Linked DNA regions of Homo sapiens: region 2 is linked to region 1. The links are contacts of gene promoters, found by promoter capture Hi-C in human tissues and cell types (Jung and others, 2019). All regions are on one chromosome and are shown on one strand. The core of a region is centred on a gene start or on the middle of the fragment in contact, and the rest is flanking DNA. Distances in the headings are between cores, read along the strand shown.

Evidence for each region. Contacts are between HindIII fragments. The study calls those that stand out against the background at their distance.
Region 2: a contact is called between a fragment that was not itself captured here and the fragment with the promoter of KCNK13 in region 1, in 1 of the 25 tissues and cell types used here (lymphoblastoid cells).

The regions. Positions count from the first base shown.
Region 1 is chr14:90,060,599-90,065,614 of GRCh38, forward strand. It overlaps KCNK13 (potassium two pore domain channel subfamily K member 13), which reads left to right and starts at 1,396. Exons shown (of 2, transcript NM_022054.4): 1 at 1,396-1,941. The coding sequence starts at 1,608. LOC124903406 reads left to right here. Exons shown (of 3, transcript XM_047432048.1): 2 at 1-313; 3 at 764-1,135. The coding sequence ends at 1,028. RefSeq lists a silencer at 1-88 and enhancers at 337-838, 839-1,338. The HindIII fragment of the contact is 23,188 bases long and covers 1-5,016 here.
Region 2 is chr14:88,942,788-88,948,279 of GRCh38, forward strand. No RefSeq gene overlaps it. Among named protein-coding and RNA genes, the nearest start is that of TRA-AGC15-1, 34 kb to the right of the region's middle. The HindIII fragment of the contact is 4,880 bases long and covers 876-5,492 here.

The sequences.
Region 1 (5,016 bases), core at 146-2,645:
CCACTACCCAGATCTGCGCGCCCTGGTGGGAGCACCGCAGCCCCGGGTCGGCCCTTCGAACGCCGAGCGTCTACCCGCGGAGACCAGCGCAGGAGGCGGGCCCGCGCGCAAGGAGGCGGGCGACAGGGTGGAGTCGCCGCAGCTGGCAGCCGCACGGCTCTACCTGTTGCAGCGTCGGAGCGCGCCCGCCTGAGAAGGCAGAGCGCGGTGCGGACCTGTGCTCCGCGCGCCGGCTGGCAGGGCAGGGCCGCGGCTGCCAGGAGGCCCGGGAACAGTCCCGACGGAGCGGCGCGGAGAGGGCGCTCCCCGGAAGGTGAGATCTGAGCGCGGCAGCGGCGCCAGCGCCCGCTACAAGGCGGGGTCTCGGGGAGGGGGCCCCGGCGGTTTGCTGGAGAGCCTTGCTACTGTTCTGCATGAGGTGGGGGATGCCTTCTGCGCGGACCCCGCGTCCAGGCAAAACTCTGGAACGCACTAGGCAGCCAAGCCCGGGGGGAAGAGATGGAACGCTCCAAGGTCAAGGTCTCCTGGCCGCGGAGCCCTTCCAGCCCCCAGTGTTTGGCCTCCTCTCCGGAAGCGGGGCTGGCTCGCGGTGCGCGCTTGGTCCGGGCGGAGCCTACTAGTAGGCGCAGAGGACGCCCCCGCGCAGGATCCAGAGACCAAGGGCGCTCTGGCATGGTCAAGGCGAGGGAGGCTGCCCGGGGGAGAAGCCCCTAACTTCCTTTGCTCCCTGTTCCAACCTCCCTTTCTGGTCTCCTCTCTCCAGCCCGTCCGCCCAACGGATGCGCAGCGTTGGGGCCCGGCCGGAGGTCGGAGCCCTCGGACGCCGCAGCCCTCGGACGCCGCTCAGCACAGCCCCTCTCTCCGTGCGCCCGCCCTGGACCCCCTCCATCCCTAAGCCCCGGCAGCCGATTCGGAGACTCGGGAGGCCACAGGCTCAGCGCGACACCACGACCACAACTAGGAGGCACCATCGTCGATCTACCTGGGGAGGCACCTACAAAGCCAGCAGACTGACACCCGTGTCCTAGCCGTCGGCGGCCTGCGAAGCGATAGTCAAAGGAACCAGGACCCAGGACCCCGGCGCTCTGCTTACCCGCAGACCTCCGGACCGCGCCCCCCCCCCGCCGCCCCGCCCCGCCCCGCCCCGCCCCGCGACCGTCTCTTTGCGGGAAACTCGAGTTGGCTCGAGCTTGCCCTGAAGACGCGCCACGCCCCCTCCCCTATCTGAGCCGGACAGGGAGCCGGGGTGGAAACTGCGCCCGCATCCCAGCGCCAAGCAGACGTGAACTCTGCGCCCGTTCCCCGGGACCTTCAGCGTTAAGGAGAACTCCGAGGAGAGCAGGGGGAGTGGAGGGGAACGGCGGCGACAAAGCGGATTTGAAACTAGGAGTCAAGGAGGACGTGGGGAGCTGGCGCCACAGGAGCTACCGAGGCGGCGGCCGGGGGAGCCTCGCGGCCTGCGGGAGAGCCCGGCGGTCATGGGCGAGCCGGCGGTGGGGCGCCCGGGAGCTGGCTGAGCGCCGGGGCCCTTATTTCCCGGGGGTGTGGGCGAGACTCCGCCGACGCCCGGTGCCGTGGGCCTGGGGGCTGCCCCCGGGGGCCCGGCCATGGCTGGCCGGGGTTTCAGCTGGGGCCCGGGCCACCTGAACGAGGACAACGCGCGCTTTCTGCTGCTGGCCGCGCTCATCGTGCTCTACCTGCTGGGCGGCGCCGCCGTCTTCTCCGCGCTGGAGCTGGCGCACGAGCGCCAGGCCAAGCAGCGCTGGGAGGAGCGCCTGGCCAACTTCAGCCGCGGCCACAACCTGAGCCGCGACGAGCTGCGCGGCTTCCTCCGCCACTACGAGGAGGCCACTCGGGCCGGCATCCGCGTGGACAACGTCCGCCCGCGCTGGGACTTCACCGGCGCCTTCTACTTCGTGGGCACCGTCGTTTCCACCATAGGTAAGTGTGCTGGCCGGACTCGCTGACAACCTCCGGGCGGCCTCCACTTCCTCCGGGGGGCAGGACCGACCCTCTCATCCTTTCATTCATCCATCTGGGCGCCCAGCCAGACTCCACTGACATGAGCTGTCGCCTGATCAACAGGTGGTATTGCCTCCCCGCTGCTCTAATGTGGTCCAGGCACCGGCAGCTTCAGCGTCACCTGGCAGCTTGTTAGAAATGCAGTCTCAGTCCCCTCTGCAGACCTGCCGAGTCAGAATCTGCATGTTAACAAAGTCCCCAAAGGATTGGAATGATCCTTAAATTGGAGACGCTCTGCTCTGGGAGATTTTCAGTCTAATGAAGGAGACACGGCTTGAGTTCATGGGGAAGAAGGCTTTTACAGATAGGGACAGGAAACTAAACATTTACTGAGTCAGTCAGAGGGGAAGTGCAGATTTTAAAAGATTCTGCCCTCGACTTCACACTTACCGAGAAAAAATCAGAACAGCAGACTGAAAGTGAGGAAGCAAAAGTGCCAATGACGGTTCAAAAGATGGAAAATTTTCCACCAGGAAGAACCAGGGAAGTGACCTTTGGGCTGAATCAATTCGTGTTAGGCATAACTTGGGTTTGGGAACTGAAAGCGCGGTTGCACTCTAGAGTAGGAGAGAATCGCACTCAGGGGCCCCATGAGCTGGTTGGAGTGGTGGAAGGAAGACTAGGAAGGTCTGCTGGCTAATGGGATGGAGGCGGGGGTAGGACCTTCACTGACAGACTGAGGAGCTGGAATTTACCTAGAGGCACCTGGGAGCCATTGAGAATTTTTTAGCAAAGATGTAGCACAGCTACAATCAGCTGTGTTTATTTCCCAGCAGAAGGAAAATGATTTGGGGGAGTCTGCGCCACACCCCTAAAGATTGTTCATCCTTGAAGAATAATCAAGTGATTAATGGGGGTTAGGGAAGATGCTGTAGAAATAAATTCTGAGGGGGGCAAAAAGAGACCTGGAGCAGGGGAGGGAGGTTGGAAGAGTTAGACGGAGAGGAAGTGGCCTCCAAGCTGCAAAAAAGGCTGGCAGTTGCAAACAGCCCAGGGTGCATGTGCTGAGCGCTCTGTAGCTACTGCCCCTGTGCACTCTAGAAGAGCTCGCTGGTGAGGTGGGGCGACAAGTTGAGCCTCCTTGAGGCTCCCACACATGGCTGTGCTACATAGACATTCTGCCAGGAGAAGCAGCACAAAAGACAAAAGAGATTGGCTTCAGGTCAGATTCATCATGAAAGACTTCCCAGGGCTAGTCCAGGAATCCAGGGCTTCAGCTGATGCACAGGAGGCGAGGCAGAGGACCAGTATGATTAGGGACACACCGGCTGTATCTGAAGTGCCTGGCTCCCAGCCCCCATCCCATCCCAGATGGTGCGGCCCATCAGCAGGCCATGATGGCACCACCATAACTGGGTATCAGGCAGGAAACCTTGCAGCAGACCAGAATGGGCCCAAGATTGGTGAAGGAGGAATAACACCCCCATGGTTCTCCCCCTGAGCCCACACTATCTGCTGGACTCTTAGCCGTGTTCCACAAGCCCCTCCTCACATCACCTCCCACGTCCCAGAAGACAGTTCCAGAATCTCCACATAGGCAAGACTTGGGATGAACAAACTGATTAGGAGGTGTCACTTTGGAAGTGACCTTGACTCTACTGTGTTTGCATAGCAAGTACAGGATTTTTTTAGATTGAATGGTAACTTAGGGTGGTTTTGATGGGAGATTTGATGGCTGAATCTTTCCCACCACCATGAAAAACCATCTCTTGGTGCTCCCAGTGGGCACAGAGGCAGGAAGGAGCAGAGTGTGTGTGTGGACAGGTGCATCCATGTAGCAGGAACTGAGAGTGGCATGGGTAGGTGGCCATATAGGAACATGGGCTTTGGGGATACGAATATGACAATGTGGCATGGAGGAGTGGAAAGAAACCTGGACAAAGAGTCTGGAGTGGGAGCTTTTCATCCTGCCTCTGTATCTTGGGCAAGCCTCTTAACTATTCCGAGCCCCATCCTTTTCTCATCTGAGGCATCTACAGAGTGCCCACCTTGGTATCTGGCACATCAGCTATTTGGTGAATATTAGTCCTGCCCCCTGCTCCCTCCGTCTGCGTAAGCCTGCCCCTGTCACAGGGTTCTTGTGAGGGACAATGAGCTCTTGTAAGTGCGTGCGTGTTAAAAGGTAAAAAACATGATGTCAGTGTGGGCTGATTTTTATTTCTCATTTGTAACATTTCCTTTTAAATTGTTTCACTAATTGTTGTAATAACAGCACTGGCTAACCTTTATCAGGCCCGTATTAGGCACATACTGTATGATTATTATGTGAATGTGCAATGCAGCTCATTGCTGTGTGACATTCACACTTCATTTCAGCCAACACAACTCCATGAGGTAGGCATAACACTCCCCCGTTATAGATGAAAAAGCTGAAGGTTCAGGTTTTTTGTAAAATAAAGTATAAAGAAGAAAAAAATCAAGTTATATGCAGTAATATCATCCAAATTAACCACTGTTCATGTTTTGGTCCATTTTCTTCTGGTCTCCTTTTTCCTCTGCGTATACTTATATACATATGCATTTTTAAAAATTAGAATTATATTCTATAAACCACTCATATCTTGCATTTTTATTGTAACATTACATGATGGTGTTTTTCCTCTAAAAATTAATTCCACCATGCTTTATTCTGCAAAGACTTTGAGGTAGCAGACAAAGTATACAGGAAAATAATCATAAAATACAAATAAAACTTCAGAACCAGGGAAAAGAAGAACAGAAATACGGGATGCAAGTGGAGCTACGAAGTTGCTAGAGAGGAACTTTGTCTTAGTTTGGGTTCCCTTAGAAGCAGAGCTTGAGCCAAGAATTTGAGTGTAAGCAGTTTGTTGGGAGGAGCAAGGGATACAGGTCGGTGCAAGGGAAAGTGAATCGAGGAAGGAAAGTAAGTTAATCCAGGATACGCTATTAAGGCAGGTGCCACAGTGGGCAACTGGTACCTAATCCCAAATGGAAGCTTGGAAGCAAAGCAAAGCTCTTGACCCAGATATCCCA
Region 2 (5,492 bases), core at 2,066-4,565, 1.1 Mb before region 1:
ACTTTCTCAGCCCAACAACAATAGCAACACACACACACCTGGAATCAAAGTAGTCTTCTGATTTGGGGGTAATGTCTGGAAAAGTCTCTGGGGTCCCCAGTATCTGACATTTCATGGAGGTTCTTGGTGCTACTGGGGTGATTTCTGTGGTACACATTGACTGAGCTTCAGAGGCTAACCCACGAGGTATCAGGGGTGGGTCCCCTAATTTACCATGTAAATTAATTTAATGAGCAATTCTTTACCAAAAAGAAAAACCACTATTGTTCCCCTCATAATACGCATGTACTGAGCATCCACTAGATGCAAAGCTCTACGCTATTACAAATCTGATTTCCTGTAAAACTCACAACAATCCCGAGAAGCAGCTTTTGTTAACTACAGTTGAGGAAACTGAGGCTCAGTGGCTGTATGTGACTTGCCCAGGGTCAAACAACTCTTTATTCAACAGACATATTCTTGATTTCCGAAGCATTTGCTCAGAGCTCCCCTTCTCCATGAGTCTGCCCTGATCACTCTATTTAATATTGCAAACTGCTCTCTGACTGTGGCACTCCCAAGTGCCTATGCCCTGCCCTACTCTTTTATCTTTTTTTCATAACATTTATCACCTGCTAACACACTATATAATTTACATCATTATGTTTGTTGTTTATTTTTTGTCTCCACTGCCAAAATAGAAGCCCCTTGAGAGGAGGTGCTTTCTTTGTTTTGTTCACTGATTGTCTTAGTCTATGCAGGCTGCTATAACAGAATACCATAGGCTGGGTTGCTTAAGCAGCAGACATTTATTGCTCATGGTTCTGGAGGCTGGGAAGTCCAAGATGAAGGCACTGGCAAGGTTCAGTGTCTAGTGAGGGTCTGTCTCCTGGTCCATAGATAACCATCTTTTCGTGTCTTCACATGGTAGAAAGAGTGAGGGTCTCTCGGGAGATTCTTTTATAAGGGCAATAATCCCATTCGAGGGCTCCACCCTCATGACTTATCACCTCCCAAAAGCCTCATCTCCAAATACTATCATGTTGGGGATTAGGTTTCAACATATGAATCTTGGGCACAAACATTCCATCTATAGCACTGGTATATCCCACAAGCCTGAACCAGTGCCTGGTGCATAGCAGGTATTCAGTATTTACTGAGTGGCTGAGTATTGATTCCAATTCCTGAGATACGGAAAGATGTCTCTCAACATCTTTTTATACATCCATCGTCTTTCTGAGATCCTACGACAACCATTACTGTCCCCAGTTTGCAGATGAGAAAACAAAGGCGCAGCAGCTTGTGTTAAAGTCACAGAATTAGAAAGAACCAAAGATGAGGTTTAAATACAGCCCTGTCAGTACCTGACATCTATACTTTCTCCTTTGTGCCCTAGGTTTGGTTTTCACTTGAAAGTCAAATACTTTGTCCGACAGTGGACCCGGCGGTGTTCCCCCCAGCTTCTAGCAGGTCTGCAGGCCTCATGTCTCCTCTCACAGCGCATGCAGGGATGGTCTCCCAGCTGAGAGAATGCACCGCAGCAACCACAGCCTGACCTCCAGACCAAGGGTGAAGGACTCTACCGACCAGCGATGAAGGAGCACCCGCGTCTTCAAGCCCTTCCGTGCACCACCGCTTCCTGGTGTCCAAGGCAGCAAATCAGCATCAACATTTTCCAAGACCTTCTGACCCTTTGGTGGAGCCAAAAAAGGAAAAGAAGACTCAATCCCTGCCTTCAGGATCTCACATATAAAAATAACTAATAGCAAAAGGCAGCTTGAGCTGCCTGGGATCTGGGGACCATTTATCCAATTGTTTCATCATCAGTCAACATCCATCTCCCCAGTGTCTAGTAGAGGGGTTGGCACATGCTTTTTCTGTAAGGAAACAGATTATAAATATTTTCTGTTTTAGGAGACAGATGGCCTCTGTTGCATCTACTCAGTTCTGCTATTGTAGGGCTAAAGAAGCCATAGACAATATATAAATGAATGAGCATTGCTATTTTCCAGTAAAACTTTATTTGTGGACACTGACCTTTGAATTTCATATCACTTTCACATGTCACAAAATATCATTCTTTTGGGGGATTTCCCTCCCAACCATTAAAAAATGTAAAAACCATTCTTAGTTCACAGGCTAGACAAAAACAGGTGGTTGGGGGATGAAATATGGCCCAGGGGCTGTAGTTTGTGGCCTTCTGTCCCAGTTGGGGGTGAAGCTCTGGGCTGGGCACAGGGGATGCAGCAATGACTGAGACCAGGTCCCTGTCGCCATTAGCCTACAGTCCAGTGGGGAGCAGACAAGCAAACAAGCCATGACCAGTCCAAGGGATGAGAAGGTGTGAGAGGAGACACAGGCAGAACCACCCTTGGAGGGGCCCTGGGAGATTGGAGGATGCTGGGGAGGGCTTCTCAGAGGCAGACAGAACTCAAACCAGCAGAGCCAGACAGACCCCACAAATGGCCTCCCTGAATGGGGGTTTGAAAGTAAGCTTGCCCTGCAGGGTGGGAAGTTTCAGCCTGAAAACTCTCTGAGCTTTGGAAAAAGCTCACCTCCCTTGGGTGTCTGCTAGAACCAAGTCTTGTGATGAAAAGGAACATGGCACTCACGAGAATGGCTTCAGGGAAGCCTCCTGCTCTGTTCTGTTCCATGTTCTCCACATGTGTGGGAGGCATTGAGGAAACCTTTCTGAATAAAATCAAATGGGCAGACTGGCCCTCTAGACAGGCACAGAGGCACAGTGCCACAGGCAGAGTGGGTTGAATGCAGTAGGTCCTTATGATGTGCTTGGCAGGAGAGGAGTCTCTGGCTGTTATGGATTCCACCATGTCCCTCAAAAGTTCATATGTTGAAATCCTAACCCCCAGCGCCTCAGAATGTGAGCTCATTTGGAAATAGGGTTGTTATACACATAATTAGTTAAGATGAGGCCAGACTGGGGTAGGGTGGGCCCTTAATCCAGTATGACAGGCGTCCTGAGAAAAAAGAGGAAATGTGGACACAGACACCCAGACACAGGGAGGACACGGTGTGAAGATTGGAATTCTGCTGCCACAAGCCCAGGAACAACAGAGATTTCCAGCGAATGATCAGAGGGTGGAGGAGAGGCCTGGAACAGAGTCTCCCTCAGAGCCTCCAGGACGAACCAATCCTGTTGACACTTTGATCTAGCTTCCAGAACTGTAAGACAATAAATTCCTATTGTTTACACCACCCAGTCAGTCAGTGGTACTTACTTCCCCAGTGGAACTGTGCATTTGGAGAAGGCACCTCAGACAGAAGCTGGAGCGGTCTAGGCTTAAATAAAAATGCAGGGTTTTAAATACATATATATATATACATATATATACACACACACACTATATATATATTAAAATATATATATATATTGTATGTGTGTATATACATATATATATATGTATACACACACACACACACACAAGTCTAGCTGCCCTATATAGAAGGAGGAAGGGAGGGAAGAAGAAGAAAGAGAAGATGTTGGAGAGGGAAGAGAGAGAAGAAGGAAAGAGAGGATGAAGAGGAGAAGGAGGAAGAGGAGGAAGAGAAAGGGGAAAAGGAGGAAAGAGAAAGAGAGAAGAACAAGGAGGAGGTAAGAAGGAGGATAGGGAGGAGGAAGAGAAAAAGAAGGAGAAGAAGAGGAGGAGGAAAGAGAGAGAGGGAGAGGAGGAAAGAGAGAGAGGGAAAGGAGGAGGAGGAGGAGATGCCCAACGGAGCCCCAGCAGTTCCAGGTTCCAGCCCAGGTGCCAGAGAGCCAGTGAAGAAGCCCTTGAATGACCTCAGCCCCATCACCACCTGACTGTCACTGCATGAGACACCATGAGTGATCACTTCCAGTTCGGCCCAGTCAGCCCTAGATCTGCGAGCCCAAGGTGATGGAAAACAGGCCTATCGGCACCCCCTTACTGAACACCTTGCAGGTGCCCAGAGGGTGGGGAGCATGCCACTGGGCCAGGGCTCAGTCTTCCCAGGCTTCTCTTGGGAAATCCTAGCCCCAACCAGAAGCATTCTGTCCTCCTCTCTGGGCTCCCTAGGTACAAATGTATATATATTTTCTATCCAAAAATCTACTTTCTTGTAATTTTATTTTTTCTACAAAGTATTTATTGTAGACATATAAGAAGATATCAAAAGCATGAAAAAGGAAACAAAAGTCACTCATATTCTCACCACTCAGACATTTTAAAAAGTGTATTTATTTTTGGCCAGGTGCGGTGGCTCATGCCTGTAATCCCAGCACTTTGGAAGGCTGAGGCAGGTGGATCATTTGAGGTCAGGAGTTCCAGACCAGCCTGGTCAACATGGAGAGACCTTGTCTGTACTAAAAACACAAAAATTAGCCAGCCATGGTGGGGGGCACCTGTAATCCCAGCTACTTGGGAGGCTGAGGCAGGAGAATCGCTTGAACCGGGGAGGCGGGGGTTAGAGTGAGGGGAGATCCTGCCACTGCACTCCAGCCTGGGCAACAGAATGAGACTCTGTCTCAAAAAAAAAAGTATTTATTTTTAACACACACAGTTTTTACATGAATGAGATTCCACTGTGCCTATTTTTAACCCGATTTTTTTCATTTGACAATATATTGTGAAGGTCTGTCAAAATATACTCTTCTAGCTTTTTGTTTTGAATGAAGAACATTTCTTTCTATGAATATGCAGTAGTCTTCCTTTTGTCCAATGTCTCAGCAGCTGCTTAATTAATAGAAAAAGCTGATAAGATTTTGGAATCCTGGACAATTTCACATATGTACCTTAGGCATTTTAGTTCCAATGAAAGCATAAAAAAATGCATATTCACTCACCAGTCTTTTGCACAGAGCACAGGACTTGCTAGCTGGAGTGCTAGCTCTTTGTCTCACCTAAACCACACCCATGATGGCACCATCTACATCTCCAGTTTCTGTGTCTTTAATGTGGAGTGAGTACTTAAAGATACAGCCAAGCAATTCTGGTGTAAAATCCTCATAATTTTCCCCACTCATTTATAGCTGTTTCACCCACATCTCATTCTGCAGCAATTCTTTGGCAACTTTCCATTTATGAAGTCTTTCCTAGGCATTTAACACAGTTTTCATAGAAACACATATTCTCTCTGCATGCACACTTCATCAGTTTGCATAATATTTAGTTATATTATGAGATAAAATTAATGCATACAGCTGCCATAAACTACTTTGGAGGCAAAGCCAACAGACTCACTAAACTCACACCTCAGCAGTCGGGAGCTGGAGTATTGAGTACCCTTATATGCACAGGCACACCGGCAGGGCCATGGCCTCAGTCACCAGGTTTTACAGAGGAAGAGGAGTCTGGTTCAGTTAGGTAGGTTGAGAGAGCTTTCACCTTCCCAGGATTCATTCAGCCCTGTGATGGAGAGTTTGGTAGTTTCCTATTATATTTTTCTGTTGTGAACAATGCTCCGCCGAATGTTCTTGTTACTAACTTCTTGATGTTGTAATATTTGGAACAAAATTGAGTATTTCTTGGAATGAA